2 separate regions of the Homo sapiens genome follow, and region 1 is linked to region 2. Evidence: promoter capture Hi-C in 16 types of primary human blood cells and fetal thymus (Javierre and others, 2016). All regions are on one chromosome and are shown on one strand. The core of a region is centred on a gene start or on the middle of the fragment in contact, and the rest is flanking DNA. Distances in the headings are between cores, read along the strand shown.

Region 1 (4,738 bases), core at 1,598-4,097, 940 kb before region 2:
TGCACTGGCATCTCAGGAGAAACAGGTCTCCATTTGGAAATGTCTGTTTCATTATTAATTTTCTTTGATTTTATTTAAAATTGGACATGGACAACTAAGCCACATAAACAACAAAGACTTTAATGCTATAATTGAATGAAATGCAGATAATTTAATCTGGCTTATTTGTATGACATATATCTGCTGAATGAAATGAAATCCCATGTTACTAAAGACAGGCAATTATTTAAATAATAAGTTGTCAATAATGTGAGGCATCATTGCATCATATTTATATATTACAGCTATTGCTTATATTACATATGTTAAACTTATATTACTTATATAACATAGGCTCTGGGAAGTAGTTAAAAGAAATCTGTACTCAGAACTAGAAATTCTATCTTAAAGCAGCTCCAACTTAAAATTTTCTACTCTTTAGCACCTAAAACAGTGCTAGCACTCATTACATACTCAATAAATATATGTTGGATTAATTAAATATTGAAGTTAGTGATAGATATGATCATTCTAGGTCAGCACATTAATTAGGCATGGATGGTCAGAGGGTTCAAAGACAAACTTTATCTTCTTCACAAGAAGGAGTTTATCTTTGGATTTTCTCACTTTTTTTTCTTTCTAAAGATCCCAAGATTCACAATACACTTCTGTATTTTAAAAATTCATAGCTCACAGGCTTCTGTGGCACTGCTCTAGGGCACTGCAAGTCTAACAGACAGGGAGATGGCCTCGGGCTTCAGCGAGGAAGTGAGTAGAAGAGGGAAAAGTGCAGCAATGGTTTCTTTAGCTCTTTTCTCTGGTAGAAGAGTTGAGTTATACTCATTTCTTCCTCTATGAGATCAGGCCTGGGGCTCAATACGACAGTAGGTGGCATCCATTACCCTGTCTAAGGCAACCTCCTTCCTAGAACAGTGCTTCTCAGTCCTGACAGCACACTGGAATCAGGCTGGAAGGTATTAACAACGATTGGTGCCTGGGTCCCACCCTAGAGATTCTGTTTTAGCTTCTCTGGAGTGGAGACTTGTCCTACCTGTGGCCATGAAGCGGTGTGTGGCTAGCAGAAGCTGTGGTGAGATCTTCACCCGCATCTCCGTGTCCGAAAGCTTAAACAAGGAGAAGTCATGCCGCTTCCGCTCCCGTTGCGGGACCCTCTGCTTTTTCCGATTGTCAGCTGTGGGGTCACAGAGGACAGATTACAGCTATCTCAGAATCACGTTGATCTTTGGAGGTTTTCCCAGAATCACAGGGGACAGATAGAACATTTCTGCAGTGTCAACTATGGGTGACATCACAATATCACCCAGGAAGTAGAAGGATGTTGGTGAGGGATAGACAATGGGAGACTGCCATCATTTCAGTGTTTTCCACACTTAGGGGGTGTATAGTAGAAAAAGGGGAAAGCAGGCTTGGGGTACCCAAGTCTGGGGTTCTGGGGCTGGTTCCCCTACTTACCATGTAATCTCTCTAAGCATTAGAGTTTTTATTTTAATCTGTACAAGGAGGCTAATAATATTTAATATAGCTCTCATACTCATCTTGTGCAATTAATTATGAGACTCCAACTGGAAACTACCTGTGAGAATGCTTTTACCCAAAGTCATACACACACAAGGGACCTGCATTCTTAGTATCAAGAGGGTTGCAGGGGCCCAGGGAATTTCTGACTCTGTCCCCCTCCTTTGCCCTGAACTGGCCTCACCTAGTCTCCTGCTGCTTATGTGAACCATGCTCTGAGTGGTACCTGAAGCATGCCACACAAGGAAGGAGGGCGGCCACCACCTCTTATTTCACAATTTCCCTGCTTCAACCCCAGTCCCTCCACTGGGAGGGAATCAGGGGAAATATAGGGAAGAAGAGAGGAGAAGAAATAAGATTGGACCTATAATCTCTAAAGGTGGGTTTTCTGGATGGGGGCCTCAGGCAGGGTCTGGTACCTCCCAAGAGCCTATGTATCAGGCATGTAATTATTGGTTGAAAACATTTGCTTTTTCCAATTTAATTTGTTCTCATTCTTTTTAAAGCTTGTCTAAATATATCTACTTCCCCCCCGGCCCCCGCTTTTTTTTTTGTTTTTTTTTTTTTGGTAGAGGAAATGTTTTCTTTGGTTCTTTCTCTTTTGCTTTCCCTGAGTTTTGAGTAAAATTTTGAAACTGCTAGCCCATCTTACCTGCACTAAGGGGAACAGGGAGAGGGATTTGGGTTTTCTCCAAACTTCGCCTAAAGAGAAACAGGGCTGTGGGGGAACGTCTGGTGCAAGCTGAGTGGATGCAGTGAGAATGAAAGGGAATGAACCCCTGTGGCAGGAAAATAAGGCCCCAGAATCCGGCTCCCTGGTGTGCCCCCTCTCCTTTTGGGGCCTGCTTTTGGGTTTCCTTCTAGAAGGGTCAAAGTGCCCTCCTGCCGGTGCAGCTCTTCCATGGCCCGCTCTGACTCTGGGCCTTCACAGTCATCTGGCCCCTGCTTTGACACTCCTTTTGCTCAAGTCACAATGGGCAGACCCAGACCCAGGTGTCCAGATCACGTAAGAGGTCAGGGTCATGCAAGAAGAAAGACAGTATCCCTGGCTTCTGGGCCTTTTCATAGCTCTTAGGGAATCATGCCAGCAGCTATTTATAGGTAGAAAGACCCTAACCTGCTCCTGTAGAAAGAGGATCACTCAGCAAAAGAGTAGCAAAATACAGGCTATTAGCCCAGCTCTTTCGCTCTCACTAGTGAGCAACTTTCTGATTTGTATGATAAGTTTGCCTAAATAGCCCCCCTCTCCCCCATCAGATTGCCACTTAACATGGCATTATTAGGAAATCATTCCTCTCATCGCCCCCTTCTCCTTAGATTTCAATAGTGTGTGTTGGAAGCCTTAAGGTTGTTCAAACAAGTGCCCTGGGAGGAGCTTACTCATTTAGACTATTATCAGTACCTAACACCTTAGTGTGAATGGCTTCACTAGTTTATCTGAGACACCTGGGATTTTTTTTTTTTTTTTTTTTTTTTTTTTTTTTTTGAGACAGTCTTGCCCTGTCACCCAGGCTCCCATGCTGGAGTGCTGTGGCACAATCTCCACTCACTGCAGCCAGGACCTCCCAGGCTCAAGTGATCCTCCCACCTTGGCCTCTCAAGTAGCTGGGACTACAGGCACACGTCACCACGCCTGGCTAACTGTTGTATTTTTTGTAGAGATGGGGTTTCACCATGTTGCCCAGGCTACACCTGAGAATTCTAAATCAAGAGTGGCAGGCAGAGGTGGGGGAGGGAGAGGACATTTCCGAGCTCGTTCCTCATGTGAGGAAGACACGCCTGGTCCGGGCAAGCACAGCAGTGCCCAGGCTCTTGGAGGGAGGTGCCATGACTCTCTTGCTTGTCTTTGCCAAGGCCTGGCCCACCTTTTAGAGTTGATCTCTTCTTTGTCTAAAAGGAAGGCACTCTTTCTGCACTGCTCACTGCCTTATGGTATCAAAGCTCTTTCTACCAGGAGCCAGTTTCTGAAAGGCCGCATCTCACAAACTAAGGACCAAAGTCTGAAACGAGTTATCTGCAAGGAAGAAAAGGATGGCTATTCCATGAGATGAAATTCTCAGGAGGAAACACTTCCCAGCCTAGGGACTCCCATGGACTTAGATAACATTCCAATCCTAAAGACAAAGCATGCCTTTGTAATGTTTGCAAGCAAAGCTTTGATAAGGTTCAGTAACCCAAAGTACTCACATCTGCATAGAAAAGTCTGTATTGTTCCTGAGTGAGGGAGTTAGGAGGGGCAGCAGACCAGAAAGAAGGAAGCAGAGACAAGAGCAGGGATGCTGGTGGCAGGGAGAGAACAGAAACCCAGGGTGGTGGGCTGAAAGGCAGAAGAGGACAGGGAAGTTTGTAAGAAGGAGTATTCAGTTTTTGGCTTAGGCTGTGAGTAGGCAATCTCATGACAGTCTCCACTGCTCACTGCGATGTTCTGATGTGAGTGGAACCCCTGTTGGGGTCTGCATCTAGGTGGATGAAGCAACCAAACAAGAACACAGGGGACAGAAACAAGGGCAGAGAGGCCTCTGGGCACCGTCCTGGGAACACTGTGTTTCCTGTAGTCCCGTTTCTATCCAAAGGCTGGGAGGTCTCCTTTTCATAGTCTTGGCTCAGTTCCTGAAGGTTCCCTCCTGATAAACACTTAGCTAGCATGTTCCCAGTGACTCAGAAGTGATTCCAACTAGGGTATCTTGCCACAGCAGCACCTGGCATAGGTGGCTGACACACATCAGGGCACAGGGTTTGCCCTGACACCCTTTCTATAAATCAAATGAGGCTTTACCTGAGAGTCTTGGAGGAAAATAAGATGACCCTGGAGAACAGCCAAGGCCGTGCACTTACTGTAGAGATCAGTTTCATCCAGGATCTCCGACTTGATAATCTCCTCTATGATATCCTCCAGCGTGACAATGCCCATCACCTCATAGAAAGGGTCCCCTTCTCCCTCATTATTCACCCGCTGGACAATGGCCAGGTGAGATTTTCCTAGAGAACAAATGAAATCACAGTTAAGTATCGGGGACATTTTCAGAGATCTTTTTTTGTGAGAAAAATGATACAAAGTTGCTGTCTGACCAATCTCAGGATTGCACTCATCCCTGGACCTCCTTAAAATATGAAGTTTTTATGCAAGCGCTTATAAATGCAAGGGCTTATAAATGCAAACCTTATTCTTCTAGATTTGTGTTTCTATTTAGGGAAGTTACTGAATATATTCAAAACCAGTTAG
Region 2 (4,184 bases), core at 162-2,661:
TCTGTGTCTTTAGTCTTGAGCCAAAATTTGCTCAAAGACTGATCTCTTCCTTGCAGGGAACAGCTTTGGGGCTGGGGGAACTAGAACCCACATGTTGGTCTAAACCCTGAGAAGGTGGCAGTGAGGAAGTATCCCCTCAGGTGACTGGATCTGTGTTCCTCCTTAACATCATCTGATGGAATGGCAATGAAAAGCGTGGATTGTGGAAAATACAGAAAAACATAAAGGAAAAAACTCCAATCCCCTGAGCCCACCACTGTTCAGGACCCCTGCTTTTGTCACCTACTATTTCCCTTTAGTTTTTAGCAGCGGCTGGATGTGATATGTCTAGTTTAACCAGTCCCCTTGATCTTTCTATATAATAAATAACACAGGAGTGAACATCCTGAATCAGATCTTAGCAGAGATGCTCACATGCGGGGTAACTGTCCATGGTGTGTGGAGGGGTCCTCGGAACCCCCTCTTAGGATCATCTCCACATACTCTCCCAGTTCTGAGATTCGTTACCAATAGCAGGTTTCCGTCACACTGCGATATCAGAGCAGTGCAGGAACTCTCCGCTCCAAGGGGTTTTTTCCTCCTAGGGGAACACTCTGCTAAGTAATGGGCAGAGAACAAAGGGGCTCCTAATTCAAGGCAGGCCTAAGGGAGGGTCAGAAAGAACTTTAGCTGGAGGTATTTACAGATGTGACCTCGAATCCTTGGGGATTCTTGGAAAATGGGCAAGGTGCCAAAAGAGGAGAACTGGCCAGGCCTTCAAAACTAAAACACCAGAGAATTACAGACAGCGAACTTGCCCCTAAGCCCTCGTTGTGGGTTTGTGTTTGAGCATTTAGGAGAGGACTCCAGTGCTCCTCAGCGACAGACACAGCTGCCTCTGCGGTGTCTGAAGGCCCTGGTCGTGGTGACGCTAGATGGCCGCCCTGGGCGCCTCCTGTGGGCGTAGAGGCATCACCACTCTGCACTGGCAGACTCAGCATGGAGTTGGAGCAGAGTCTGACACGAGCACTTGCCATCCCAGGCGTTTCAGTTCTGACTGAGAAGGTAGATGCACAGGGGAGGAGAGGGCCCTTTCGAGCTCCACTCTGCCTCCACCACTCATTCCCTAACCCCGCAGCCTCAGCGCCCTCATCTGTAAAATGGGGAGTTTTGCCTACAGGGTTCAGCACAATGCCAGCCTGACATAGGAACCCCAGTGGATTGTCAGTTTTGCCATTATCCCCTGCATCCTGGAGGTGACACCGCCTGGTTAATAGGCAACACTCCCGACGGCCCAGCACAGCCCCAGGGCAGCAGGAGGCTGGCCTGTGGCCAAGAATGCATGGTGGAGGGGGCCTGGAGGGGGACTGCAGCTCCTCCTCTTCCTGCTTCCTCCCTGCTCCACCCCGTGCCTAGGGCAGCACAAAAGCCAATCGCTAGCAAACTCCCTGCCTAGCAAGGCCCAGCCTGGGGCAGAAATGGCTGCAAGTGGCCGAGGTCTCTGCAAGGCTGTGGCCGCCTCTCCCTTCCCGGCGTGGAGACGAGATAACACGGAAGCCAGGGGAGGTCTGAAGCCTGAGTATGATGCGGTGGTGATAGGAGCAGGTAAAGTGGTAAAGCAGGCCGGGCCAGAGCTGAGGGGCGGGAAGACAGCCCTGCTCAGAGCTTGGTGGGGAGGGGGAGGGGGAGCCAAGCCCCACTGCTCTCTCCTCTGGCATAACCCAGCCAGAAGTTTATACGCTAGCAGGGGCTGCAATGGAAAGCCCTTCCATCTGGCAGGCAGGCACCTGGGATTCCGGTGCTGGCTCTGCTGTGTGGCCTGGGGCAAATGCTTGCCTTCTCTGGGCTTGGATCTTCCCATGGAGAATGACAGGAAGACTAGGTGAGCTCAGGGGTTTCCCTATATCTCTTGCAAAGTGACCTAGTTTCCACCACATTCTCAGCCTATGGTTTGTAAGGGTTGGAAAGAGCCCTGGGCCAACAGACAAGTGAAATCCAGCACCCCGCCCCCTCAGTGCCCTGAGTTCTGGTCACCACTACCTTACCACTGAGGCCACCCCTCGTCACAAGAAACTGCAGTCATTTCATAAAGGCCAGTTAGGATAAAACAGAACTGAGTCCCAGAGTTCCTACTGCGTGTCTGCAGAGGGAGATGGACCCCATTGCCTTGCAGCTCTGGGACATTTGGGGATCTGCAGTGATCTGCCACACTTTGCCAACCCCTGGGCTCAGAGTATCACAGTCTACTGGGTGCTAGGGGAAGAGGCAGGCCCAGGACCAGGTGGTCTTTCCTTAGTGCCTTCCTTTCACACTTGCAGAGGGCCCCAAATGCATGATTGCCAACTGGGTCTATACAGAGATAATGACGGGACCGAAAGCAGACGGCACTCAACATGCAGCTTTGAGGGCATGCCTTCATTTTCATATGTACTAGAGCAGTTGCGAGCTGGTAGATACTCAACACTCACCTCTCCAGGGAAAAATGTGTGATGTATGTGTGTGTGTACATGTATATATATGTATATATACACACATATATGTGTATATATATGTATATGTGTTACGTACATATATATACACATATACACATGCTTATTTTAAATATTGAAATAAAAGATACACTGCACACAATTTTACAAATAAAGATACAATACTCTCAATTTAAATGCAGTCTACCCGAGTGATTCTTACCAAAGGCTTTCTTTGATTTTTGCCAAACTCAGTAGCCAACCTATAGTTGCAAATGACAAATGAGGGTAGCTCCAAAGAGAACGGTGCTCCATATTTTCTGTAAAGAGTAGGATGATCGTGAAACAAATGAAACAACAAAGATTTATGTCCCAACCTTACTCCTTTATTTTTTAAAATTTATTTTTATTTTATTTATTTATTCATTTATTGAGATGGAGTCTTGCTCTGTTGCCCAGGCTGGAGTGCAGCGGCGCAATCTCGGCTCACTGCAACCTCCGCCTCCTGGGTTCAAGCGATTCTCTTGCCTCAGCCTCCCGAGTAGCTGGGACTACAGGCGCCCACCACCACGCCCGGCTAATTTTTGTATTTTTAGTAGAGACGGGGTTTCACCATGTTGGCGAGGCTGATCTCAAACTCCTGGCCTTGTGATCCACCTGCCTCAGCCTCCCAAAGGGCTGGGATTACAGGTGTGAGCCACTGCGCCCGGCCTCCTTCTTTAAATGACAGGAATGATGTTACTCAAATAAGATAATATTGTTCTAATACTAGAATATTTCCTTCAATTTTTGTGCTATTTATTCATGCTATAACAGCTAACACTGTTAGGTTTAATCTGCATTATTAGCATTTTCCCATCACTTTCTTAAGCCTGACCACAAAAAATAAATTCAGCCCTTCTGTGTAATATTTGCTGATGACAGTGGTGTAAATACTCCCACCATAGCCTTTTCTGTTACCAAGATGAGGTTGCTCAATGTGATTTAGGAGAGATACCCAGTAGCACATCATTGTATAGTGTGTCCACCATGCAGATATGTACATAGAGGCCAGTGACTGCCAGGGCATGGGCAACAGTCAAATGTAGTAAAACAAATAGGAGGTAGTGTGTTTTGAGTATTTATTACCTTTGTTTTTAATTTATTTAATTGTAAGCTTATATAATTTAGTTTATATCAATGGCTGTTTGACAGCCGGCTCACAAACTCCCCGGGCTGGTGGGAGCCATCTCCAGCACCTCACTTAGCCTCAGAGAAGCCCCCTGCCTCCTTCCGTGCTCAGCCACAGCTCACCCTGCTGTCTCCTAATGGGGAAGGTTGACTTTAGGTCACCAGCTGCCTTGGTGACTTGCCTACAAGTGCGAGTGAGTCTCAGTGTGTGAGCTTTTCCTTGACATGATTTCTTTAGTTGCTAAACATACCATAAAGCCTGGTTTAAAGGCATCTTGGGCCTCAGTGAGGAACAGAACGGCATCTTCTGAGACAAGGGTTACCTCTGAGTCCCTGAAGGCACACTGGCACCTGGCCGCCACCTTGAAGATGAATCTCATTTAGTCATTTGACTAAATGTGCCTGAGAGTGACTGAGGGGGCTTGTTAAAATGGAGATTCCTGGCCCCATACCTGGTGACGAGCATTCTGAGGGCGGGAGGTGTCTCCCAGAGGTCAGCACATCCACCCAACCAACACTGCCTGATGCAGGCAGCTGCAGAGCCCACGCCCAGAGCAGCTCCTCAAG

Evidence for each region. The method cuts DNA at HindIII sites, captures the fragments that hold promoters and counts their contacts. A CHiCAGO score of 5 or more calls a contact.
Region 1: a contact is called between a fragment that was not itself captured here and the fragment with the promoter of PYROXD2 in region 2, in 2 of 17 cell types (M0 macrophages and M1 macrophages). The highest score is 5.5, in M0 macrophages.

What each region holds. Positions count from the first base shown.
Region 1 is chr10:99,357,268-99,362,005 of GRCh38, reverse strand. CNNM1 (cyclin and CBS domain divalent metal cation transport mediator 1) reads right to left here. Exons shown (of 11, transcript NM_020348.3): 2 at 4,351-4,494; 3 at 1,031-1,171. Among named protein-coding and RNA genes, the nearest start is that of CNNM1, 30 kb to the right of the region's middle. RefSeq lists enhancers at 2,710-3,376, 3,377-4,044. The HindIII fragment of the contact is 1,648 bases long and covers 2,024-3,671 here.
Region 2 is chr10:98,412,409-98,416,592 of GRCh38, reverse strand. PYROXD2 (pyridine nucleotide-disulphide oxidoreductase domain 2) reads left to right here and starts at 1,411. Exons shown (of 16, transcript NM_032709.3): 1 at 1,411-1,584. The coding sequence starts at 1,458. HPS1 (HPS1 biogenesis of lysosomal organelles complex 3 subunit 1) reads left to right here. Exons shown (of 20, transcript NM_000195.5): 20 at 1-395. The HindIII fragment of the contact is 3,850 bases long and covers 1-3,605 here.